Linked DNA regions of Homo sapiens: region 2 is linked to region 1. The links are contacts of gene promoters, found by promoter capture Hi-C in blood cells and fetal thymus (Javierre and others, 2016). All regions are on one chromosome and are shown on one strand. The core of a region is centred on a gene start or on the middle of the fragment in contact, and the rest is flanking DNA. Distances in the headings are between cores, read along the strand shown. Region 1 holds the start of MOB1B (MOB kinase activator 1B). Region 2 overlaps SULT1B1 (sulfotransferase family 1B member 1).

The links. Contacts are between HindIII fragments. The CHiCAGO score rates a contact against its expected background, and 5 or more counts as called.
Region 2: a contact is called between a fragment that was not itself captured here and the fragment with the promoter of MOB1B in region 1, in 1 of 17 cell types (M0 macrophages). The highest score is 7.1, in M0 macrophages.

What each region holds. Positions count from the first base shown.
Region 1 is chr4:70,900,249-70,905,878 of GRCh38, forward strand. MOB1B (MOB kinase activator 1B) reads left to right here and starts at 2,121. Exons shown (of 6, transcript NM_173468.4): 1 at 2,121-2,302. The coding sequence starts at 2,289. It overlaps LOC124900711 (a long non-coding RNA gene), which reads right to left and starts at 1,983. Exons shown (of 2, transcript XR_007058132.1): 1 at 1,701-1,983. RefSeq lists silencers at 1,941-2,090, 2,401-2,450. The HindIII fragment of the contact is 2,463 bases long and covers 1,622-4,084 here.
Region 2 is chr4:69,750,651-69,756,407 of GRCh38, forward strand. SULT1B1 (sulfotransferase family 1B member 1) reads right to left here. Exons shown (of 8, transcript NM_014465.4): 2 at 4,420-4,611; 3 at 4,020-4,148. The coding sequence starts at 4,567. Among named protein-coding and RNA genes, the nearest start is that of SULT1B1, 7.1 kb to the right of the region's middle. The HindIII fragment of the contact is 858 bases long and covers 1,351-2,208 here.

The DNA.
Region 1 (5,630 bases), core at 871-3,370:
GGGAGCAGTTTGGAAATGTGTGCCAGTCATTTGAAGGATGCCCCTGGCAGGAGAGAACTTTAGAACTGGAAGATATTTTAGAGATCATGTAATGATAGAAGGCTCCCATTTTAAATGGGCTAAAACTGAGGCTATGACAGGTCAACTCACTCTTTCCAAAGATAATCAGTAATCTGGTAATGCAAGTCTTACTTTCAGAAGACCCTTACAAGAATCATACAGGGCTGGGCGTGGTGGCTCACGCCTGTAATTCCAGCATATTGGGAGGCCAAGGCAGGCAGATCACGAGGTCAGGAGTTTGAGACCAGCCTGGCCAACATAGTAAAACCCCGTCTCTACTAAAAATTCAAAAATTAGCCAGGTGTGGTGGCACAGGCCTGTAATCCCAGCTACTTAGGAGGCTGAGGCAGAATTGTTTGAACCCAGGAGGCAGAAGTTGCAGTGAGCCTAGTCCAGAAGTTGCACCACTGGACTCCAGCCTGGGTGACAGAGTGAGACTCCGTCTCAAAAAAAAAAAAAAAAAAAAGAATTATACAGTAAGTCAGTACCATATCAATATTTGGAGCACAGGGTTTTATACCATAAATCTATTATTTTCATTCAGATAAATCCTCCTCTTTCTTCTTTTTGGGGAATCTTTTAAAAAATTTTTAATTTAATTTGAAGTTCCAGGATACATGTGCAGGACGTGCAGGTTTGTTACATAGGTAAACGTGTGTGCCATGGTGGTGTGCTGAACCTATCAACTTATCACCTAGGTATTAAGCTCTGCATGCATTAGCTATTTATCCTGATCTGGTAATCTTTTGAGTCTGTAAGTTTTCTCATTCCAGTAACCTCTGCTGTTCCTGAGATAGTGCAAGATTCTAGTATTTTCTTCTATTAAAAAATTTTTTTTTTGAGACGGAGTCTAACTCTGTCACCCAGGCTGGAGTGTAGTGGCATGATCTTGGCTCACTGCAACCTCTGCTTCCTGGGTTGGAGCAATTCTCCTGCCTCAGCCTCCCGAGTAGCTGGGATTACAAGTGTGTGCCACCATGCCCGGCTAATTTTTGTATTTTTAGTAGAGACGGGGTTTGGCCATGGTCTTGAACTTTGGCTGGTCTTGAACTCCTGACCTCAGGTGATCCACCCACCTCGGCCTCCCAGAGTGCTGGGATTACAGGCATGAGCCACTGCGCCCGGCCTAAAACGTTTTTTTTTTTTTTTTTTTTTTTTTTTTTTTTTTTTTTTACCACTTTACCAACGTGCCAAATAATAGTGCATATATGCAGTATAATACATTTCATATCTGCACCTACTTCAAAGTGTATTCTGCCCTTTGGGATAAGCCAAAGGTGAGCTAATATCTGCACATGATTTGTTTTGCTCAGATTCTCTTTGAAAACTTGTAGATTTGATGGGTGTTGTGAGTAAAGAAGACGGACATCTCTTCGATACCCGTATTTCCCTCCTAAATTGGTAATGCTGTGGTGACATATTCAAGGTATGTGAAGGATTCTTAAACAGAATATAAAGGCTTGCCCTGGGCCCCATAACCCTGTGAGAATAAAAGTCCCTTTGTAAGTGGGTCTGAATAGCTTCTAGCTTCTAGGATGTTCTGTGCATTAGAATGCTTACAAGCTTTGGCCCCCTAAGTGGTTACACCGATGACCACCCTATCATGCTGGGTTCCGTGGTGAACTGAGAGATGCCATTACCTTTCACCGCCCTTGGCCGGACACTCACGGTGGGCCTAACTCCGGTGGTAATTCCATCCCTCACTGCGGGACCTTGACATCCCCGAGCTGAAGCCCACTTCCTCCCTGACCTCTGGAGCCCAGCTGAGCGGCTCCGAGAGCTCTGCCATGACTCCTAACCGGGTGGACAGGGGGGCCGGGCAGCCGCGGCGCACACGCTGGGCGTCGTCCCTAGCAGCAGAGGAGACCAGAAGGTGAGAGTCCCCATGCCGCAGCCGGAGGGCCGGGGTGGGCTTGCACCGCTATCGCGAGAGCTCGTGAGGTGGGGGCGGCGGGGAGCTGGGGAGGGGCTCGCGGAGAGCCTGCCCCGCCTCCCTTTCCTTCCCCTCCCCTGGAGTGATTCAAGACGAGCGCTACCCACTTCCGCCCCCTCCCCCTGCCATTGGAACTAGCTGAGCCGAACTAGTTGCGGCCACCGAGCAGCCGGCTCTCGGCACCTCCTCCTCCGCCTCCCTGTCTCCTGTTCCATTCGCCTTTCCTCTTCTTTCCTGGCCCACGCCGCTCCGAGGCCTCGCGACCGCCGAGCCTGCAGCCTGCCCCGCGGCCAACATGAGCTTCTTGTTGTGAGTAGCCAGGCCCCGCACGCGCCGGCTTTGTTCGGGTGGACCTGGGCCCCCGCCCGCCGCCCGCCGCCCGTCGCCCGCCCTCGTCCCGACCCTCCTGGCCCAGCGCTCCCGGGGCCCGGCGTCACCACCAAGCGGGGCCCCGGGACTGCGCGGAGCGCTCGGACTACCTAACCGCCGCCTCCCCATAGGGCTTCGAGTACTCGTGGGCTCCTGCAGCCCTGAGGAGGTTCTTCCCCCCCGGCACACCCCGGGGCCAGCGCCTGGATTCCTTCATCACCCCCGTCTCTGCCTTCGCTCGCATTCCCGGGCTTGTTTGTGCGCTTCTCGTGGGTATCTCCCACTCGCCTGCACAATCCGTATCCAAGCGGTGCTCGGTTGAATGGCTCCGTCGCGGCTGCCCATTGCTCTTTTCTGGGTCCCAAGCACAGAAGATAAGACTGTCGTACTTTCCCCTGTCATCCCAGGACCCTTTTAACTTCCTCTCTCGTCTTAGGGCTGGGAAGTTGGGATGACAAGTTCTGTAGATGTAACACTGAAACAAGGCTACTTGCGGGTCGGGATCCCTTGGACACAGACGGGGGTCCCTGAGAAAGGGGTCTGGAGCCGCCCCCTTGCTTCCTAGAGGCGCCCTTCCTCCCAGAGGACTTCCCTGAAGAGGATGAGTTTTATCTTTTTAGACAACCAGCAAATAGGTTTTGGATAGTGTGCCCTGCCTAGGTTGATTAGGTCCACTGGGGAGTTGTTTTGAAAATCATTTGTAAATGCCAACTTTGGCGTCATGTTTAGTGCTGGTCATTATTTCACTTACTTATCGTTTGTTCCAGACGAGTGGAGGGGAACGTGGAGGGGGAAGGGCAGAAGGATGGGATGGCCAGATGTGGATATGGAGGCAGTAGATAAGCCTCAGGTCCTCTGAAAACAGGGGTTACAGCCTGAGGAATAACTCCTTTGAAGGCTTCGTTGTGATGCACTCATTCCATGTTTAGTCTGTGTTTAGAAAACTAATAAAAAACTTAGAAGTTGAAACTCACCCATATACTGTTTTACTGTTGTGGAGAAATTAGCATTTAAAGGATATTTTCTTAAGATTTCTCTTCTTTCCTTGCCTAATAATTTTTAGTCATTACATTGACGTCTGAATACTGAGAATTTAATTCACTCTTATTTTCACATGCTCACATCTAGAATTTTTTTTTTTAGGGTGTTTAAGCAAAACTGAACAAGGCTGACCTAGGGGCAGACTTGATATTTCCAATATGCATAGGGGACCTGGCTTGTGTCAACTTGCCTAAAACCTTTAAACGGAAAGGGATTTCTTAGGCTCCTCCTAGAAGTTGATTCTGAGTTTGTCGGATTGGCATAGGGCTAGATGACAGGACTGGGTGATTTTATAAAAAAGTCCTTGTTTCTTATTTTAGTTCTTTTTTTTTTTTTTTTTTTTTTTTGAGACGGAGTCTCCGCTCTGTCACCAGGCTGGAGTGTGTAGTGGCGTGATCTCGGCTCACTGCAACCTCTGCCTCCCGGGTTCAAGCGATTCTCCTGCCTCAGCCTCCTGAGTAGCTGGGACTACAGGCCCGCGCCACCACGCCTGGCTAATTTTTGTATTTTTAATAGAGATGGGGGTTTCACCATGTTGGCCAGGCTGGTCTCGAACTCCTGATTTCAAGTGATCTGCCTGCCTTGATCTCCCAAAGTGCTGGGATTACAGACGTGAGCCCACCGTGCCTGGGCAGTTTCTTGTTTTAGTTCTAATCACCATATTCAGGTATCTCAACTTGAAGCTTCTCATCTTGAGCTTAATTTTACATTGCTAATGTTTGATTGTTTTCAAGAATTTAGAAGCTGTATTCAAAATAGCACTGTAGATGATATCCATGACTACTGCTGATGGGCTTGTGTCTAGTAAGCTAAATTGGTTAAAGCAAGGCCAGTCGCGGTGGCTCATGCCTGTAATCCCAGCACTTTGGGAGGCCAAGACAGGCAGATCACCAGGTCAGGAGTTCGAGATCAGCCTGGCCAATATGGTGAAACCCCGTCTCTACTAAAAATACAAAAATTAGCTGGGCAAGGTGGCACGCACCTGTAGTCCCAGCTACTTGGGAGGCTGAGACGGGAGTATCACTTGAACCCGGGAGGTAGAGGTTGAAGTGAGACGAGATCGCGCCACTGCACTCCAGCCTGGGTGGCAGAGTGAGACTCTGTCTCAAAAAAAAAAAAAAAAAAGGTTAAAGCAGGGAAGAGCCATATTTGGCTGAAACTAGGGGATGGAGAAGTTTCTGATGCTATTTTTTGAATACAAATACAGTAGAATCCTATTTTTACATGGCTCAGTATTTAATAGATTCAGATTTGTGGTGGATTAGTTTGTTTCTCCTGAAGGTTAGTAACTACAAAAGAAATCTTGCTGTAACTAATGTATATAGAACTTTAGAGCATTTGCACTATTTGGGGCACAATTTTTCAGTTAGGTTATATCTATCTAGCAGTTGATATATTCTCAACATATTTAGCCCATGTGCTTGACAATCAGAAAAGTTAATTCAACATTTTCAGTTTTGGTCTTTGTCTACCGTCAATTAAAAATCCAAAGTGAACACCACATGGAAATGATTATTATTGGAAGTGAAAGAACAAAGCTTTGGTTATTTCTTCTATTTGTTATTTGGTATAACTGTCTGAATACTGTTTCTTTTTTTTTTTTTGGAGACAGGATCTCACTCTGTCGACCAGGATGGAGTGCAGTGGCATGACCACAGCTAACTGTAGCTTTGACTTCCCAGGCTCAGGTGATCCTTTCATCTCAAACCCCCTCCCCGCTACAAGTAGCTGGTACTACAGGTATGCTCCACTATGCCTAGCTAATTTTTTTTTTTTCGGTAGAGTCAGGGTTTTGCCATGTTGCCCAGGCTGGTCTCCTGGGCTCAAACAATCCACTCATCTTTGCCTTCCAAGATGCTGAGGTTACAGGTGTGAGCCATTACACCTGGCTATCTGAATACTATTTCTGTACCAACAGATGAGCAGAGAAGGAAAGCGTTACAGCTTAGGAGTTAAATACAAATATTTTCCTCCCGTTCTTGGAAGCTTACTGGGAAGCCTACGATCAGTGGATGGAGCAGAGGAAATAAGGGCAATGCAAGATGGGGCTGCAAAGGTGGTGACTCATGACTCTTGAGGGCTCTAAGATAGAAGGAAAGAACTACTACTGATTTTTAAAAGATGCACTGTGGGCCGGGCACAGTGGCTCCTGCTTGTAATTCCAACACTTTGGGAGGCTGAGGTGAGTGGATCACTTGACCCCAGAGTTCCACACCAACCTGGACAA
Region 2 (5,757 bases), core at 530-3,029, 1.1 Mb before region 1:
ATGCTAAGAAGTCATTCAGCCTATTACATTTTTCTCTTAATGTTCTATGAAACACATTTTGACTTCATAGTTTATTTACTTATTTGTTTGCTTACTGTATGTCCCCATGTCCCTTCCCCAACCTCACTCCTAAACTTAGACTAAAATGGAGATTTCATAAGAACAGAGATGTAACTTGTTTTGTTCATAAATAAATGTCCATCGAGAACCGTGACTAGCACATGGTTAATATGAAGAAGCCTATTTAATGTCAGTAGACACAGGTTTGGCATACAGGAAATTAAAAAATGTGAAAATCCAAGTTAAATTTGAATTATCAGATAAATAGGTTGTTTTTAGCAAGAATATTTCCCTTACAACATTTGGAAAGTACTTACATACTTAATAAAATGGTTATTTATCTGAATTTGAAATTAATTAATTGTCCTGTATTTTATTTGCCAATATAAATGACTGTAAACATAAATTACTATACAACTCCATCAGGGATTTTACTATGCCTCTACTGATCTAGCAGCTACAGTCACTTTACCCAGCATATAAAAATGAGAAATTGTAATCCTCCACAACTCGTTATTACTTAATGTCCATTAGATGAACTTATGTCTGTTTCTTTTAAGAAGTTTTTCTCACATCTGTTGTTCCTTGTTCCGCATTCAGCTTCCCTGAAAGATTTCTCAATTTCCCCTATTTTGCAATCATTTTGCCAAGTGAGTCTTTTAATGAACCCTTTATATCCACAAGTATGAGTGTTAGCAATGTATAAAGACAACAAAATTATCCACATTCAGGCTCTGGAGTTTGTTTGTTTGTTTATTTGAGACGGAGTCTCACTCTGTCGCCCAGGCTGGAGTGCAGTGGCGCGATCTCAGTTCACTGCAAGCTCTGCCTCCCGGGTTCACGCCATTCTCCTGCCTCAGCCTCCCGAGTAGTTGAGACTACCGGCGCCCGCCACCACGCCCGGCTAATTTTTTGTATATTTTAGTAGAGACGGGGTTTCACCGTGTTAGCCAGGACTGTCTCGATCTCCTGACCTCGTGATCCACCCGCCTCGACCTCCCAAAGTGCTGGGATTACAGGCGTGAGCCACCGCGCCCGGCCTAGAGTAGATTTAAATGCTGCAGTTTACCCTCATCTACCTGATGAACTTCAGCCATTCACTGTCAGGCAATGCTGCATATCCTCCCTCTCTATCCCCAATCCTGCCTTCCATCTGTTATCCCTGACTCCCATGTCTCTGATTACTTTGGTTCTGTCACTTTTTCATTTCATACTTTCTATGGTTCTGAAGTCTTGCCTCCCTCTTGAACTCATTTTGGTTCCTTGCCCCAGCATAATCCCTCAGTTCCAAGCTTTCCAAGGATAGGCATGTTTAAGAACATCAAGACATAACATAGTCATGTTTAAGAACATCTTATCATAACCATTTGTTTTAAGAAACTTTGCAGTTTGCATTTTAAGTCCTTGACAAATGTAAGATTAACAACTTTGTGAGAGTAACAGATTTGCTTTGTAATGCTAAGTAAAAAATGTTGAGTATTTATACTTGAATTTTAAGTTGAAATCTTGCTAAGTGTCTAATTTTCTTTTTTAAATTTGTTTAGAGACAGAGTCTTGCTCTTTCGCCCAGGCTGGAGTACAGTGGTGGAATCATTGCTAAGTTTCTATGTAGTTTTGGAACATTTAAAATGGCTAAGATTTGCTGTATTTATGAGCTTAATTTATTGGACTATAAGTACTTGGGAAGGTTTGTCTTGGTCAGATAAATTAAGTACTCAAGGAAATGAAATATATTAATATATAAATGCCACTTAAGTGTTTAAAGGAGCTTAATTAAATAAAACTTGGATTGAATATTAAACTCCTTTTGTTATATAAGTAAAATAATAATATTTATAAGCTGAACTTAATGGCTTAGGAAACAACTGGGATTTTATATTTGTAACTTTGAAAAATTGAATATATTTTTTAAACAAAACAAAACAAAAATTGGCATTTGCTGTCTGAATTCTGGCAATGACATAGAAGGACTGACATCTTGCCAGTTGATCCGTCTCTGCCTACGGAAGTAACTAGTTCAGTCAGCCTGCTGAGGGGCACCTCCATTATAGAAGAGGATTTGGATATTTCTCTTCACATTGGCATACAGGTCTATCACTATCCTACTACTTATTTGTTTCCCAGGATTCCAGCAGCATTTGAAAGTCAAGCTTCACTTCTTGAATACCCCTCTCATTTACTTACAGAACACCATACTCTTGCATTCCCTGTTAGCTCATTTTTTTTCAGTTTCCTTTGCTAGCTTCTCTTTCTCACCTAACTTCTGCATGTTGATGTTTTTCACAGCTCATTGCTTCTCTTCTCATATAGCTCCACAGGCTTTCCTTGGGCAGTCACATTGATTCCAATGTCCAATTATGCTGAGCATTGCCTAATGAATATATTTTTACAAGCTCCAAATACCATCATTTTAATTCATTATAATTTTCTCCAATGTCACAAAGCTAACATTTCACAATTGAATTATTAATAACCCTACACCCAAATGTGTTCCTCTCCAAGTACTTTTCCTTGCAAGCGAATGGTTCCATAGTCCACTTGCTTGATGAAAAATAAAACTGTCATTTTTCTTTCATTTTCTTCATATTTCTTTTACAGTCCATCAACAAGTCACAAATATGTCTTATCTAGCATCCTCAATTCCACCTCTACCAAGCAACCTGTGGAGTCTTTGTATTTAAAACAACAACAAAAAACAAAAACTCTATATAATTTTTCTTTGCATAAAACCCTTCAATATCTTCCTCAATGTTCTTGGAATAAAATGAGAAAATGTTTTAAGAATTACAAGTCCTACATGGTCTATCCTAGCCTAATTTCCAATTGTTTTGCATCCCACTTTTTCCTTCTTTCATGGATCATTTTAGTCTCCGGACTATATCAAGATCTTCCTGGAATATGCTTTCCAGGACTGTATCCTGGGATATTCTTTCCCCAAGTATGTACAACTTTTTAATCTCAATTTGGAGTAGATACCCCTTGTTAAATTAAGTTTAGACTAAAGCTGTCATCTTACACATTTTAAGTTTGGCTTAAAGGTTTCTCTATACATAGTGAATTGTAACCTAACTGGATGTGTAAACATATTACATTCTACCCTTGTGCGAATCACCAAGTTTTGGCCAATCAAAGGTGGCCAGCTCTTCAGACTGTGTTCAAATAAGTCAGACACTAAACTTTAACTAAACCAGCTGTTTCTATATCTCAAGTCTGTTCTCTGTATGTCACATTCCTTCCTTCCATAAACCATGTAGCTATTCTGGAATCTCTGAGGCTATTTTGGCTCAAGAGGCTGCCTGATTTGTGAATTGTCCTTTGCTCAATTAAACTCATTTAATTTGTCTAAGTTTTTTTCCTTTATTACCCACTTAAAGTAAGCTTTCCTATTGTTCGCTTCCACAGAACCCTATTATTTGACTATGTAAGACTATGAACATTGACATATTGTTATTTACTTTTTGACGTCACAATATTGCTGTAAGCTCCCTGTGATACAATATACAATTTCTAATCTTATATATCTATACCATAGCACAGTGAATAATTCTTTACAAGCATTCCATAAATATTTTGTGGAAGAAAAATTAATAGTATTAGTGAATTTTATGTTTTAAGAAAAGTTGCTTCTTATTTATTAATTACAACAAAGTCCTAAATTAGGAACTTACTAATCTAATCAGACAAATTCTACCAAATAAAAGTCTTAAAAATATTGTTTATTTTATCAATCAAATTTTTAATTGTTTTGTACAGTAAGACTCTTTCATCTTTGATATCATACCTGGATGTACAACAGATAAAAATAAAGTTTCTTCTTATTCTTCAGTTTTATATTGTTTGCCACCTTCCATTTTATGTCACCAAATCTACTCCGGTTTCAGTGAAAGTCACACATACAATAATGCATATGCTGTCTAAATAATATTACAAAATAATAATTCCAAGTGGGTTAAATTTACCTGATGTTCTTAATCCAGGGAGAGTCATTTCCAACATTGGAACTTTTTCAGTAATAAAACCTCGCTTACATTTTTCAATATCTCCATCATTTAGAATCATGTCTATAATTTCACTAACCCAAGTAGTACCTGTGACAAAAGGCAACATTTTCAAAATAATTACCCAAATTGCACGGGAGAGGGAGAAGAATTTATTGGAAACACTACCATCTTAACACATTCTATTACAAACTTAATTCCCCTTTCTATGCACCAAATGCCAATTTTAATATACTAAAATAGATGGCTGCACAAAATGAATATTAACTTTATTTAGAATGGTAATGATTTTATGGACAAGTTGATTTCCAGGAAACAAAAAATGAGGTCGGACTTGAATTTGTCAGGCCACAGAACTCACCTGATTTAGGATAAGTGGCTATCACAATGTCATCTGGTCTGCTATGGAACTGTTCAATTTTTTCCCAGTTGCTTGCAAAAGCACAGGTCATGGGATAACCATGGACCAACTTCAGATCTTTTCGCAGAATATCTTTTGGGGAAAGCATTTTAATACCAGATTGTACAAATATATAATAGATTGACAGTTGTTCTGGAGAAATATAGAGAATAAAAATCAGAATCTGAGTAACTAATGTTGGTCTTAAGACACTGCAATTTGTCACAAAGTAAAATTGGCCTTTAACATTCTGCGCACATGGAGATCTAAGTACAAAGGGCATATTTTGTGGGCATTAGGTGCAGTAGATTGCAAGAGCAGTAACTGGCTCTGTGACAAGCAGGACAAAGGTCTCTAGTGGAAGTTTTGGAAAGAAATGAAACTGCATATCTCTCTTTGAATTAAAAAGCGTGTTTCACAGAAATATGGCAAAAACAATCTGAACAATCTGACTTAAGGCAAAATAAATCCACTGCTCATTATTAAGACTTCAGCTACACGTCATTTTTCCTTACAGAAAATTTGCTGTCATTCTGACCTTTGATTTTCAGTTTGTAATTCATCCTTTTTCTTTGTGTGCTTCTAAGGTTTCTTTCTTTATCACTTATTTTGAGCAAGTAGATTATAATGTTCCTAGGTGTGGTTATTTTCATGTGTGTGTGTGTGCACGCGCGTATACATTTTAGCTTTATTGAGCTTCTTGAAATTGTGAGTTTACGGTTTCCATCAAATTTGGATAATTTTCAGCCATTATTTCTTCAAATATTTTTTCCATCTCTCTCTCCTTCTGAGACTATAATTACATGTATATTAGGCCATATGAAGTTGCCCACAGCTGAGAGATTATCTATTTAGTTTTTTAAAAAGCTTTTCTCTGTGTGTGTTTCATTTGGGATATTCTCTATTGCTATGTCTTTGTAATTACTAACCTTTTCTTCTGCAATGTTTAATCTGTCTTTACTCCTATCCAGTGTATTTTTATCTCTGGCTTTGTAGTTTTAATCTCTGGCTGTTCAATTTCAATATGTTTATTTTTTTGTTCTCAACTTTTTAAGCATACTAAGTACGGTTATAATGATTTTTTTCTTTGTTTAACATCTGGGTAATTCTATGTTGTTTTCAATTGATTGATTTTTTTCTCATTATGGTAGGCTTTTTCTCCTTGTTTACATGTCTGATAATTTTTTATTGGATGCTTGGTGTTCCTGTTAACTTCTTCTTGATTAGAAGCTGTCATTGATAATTTTTTGTGTCAACCTGACTGTGCCAAGGAGTCCCCAGACATTTGGCCAAACACTA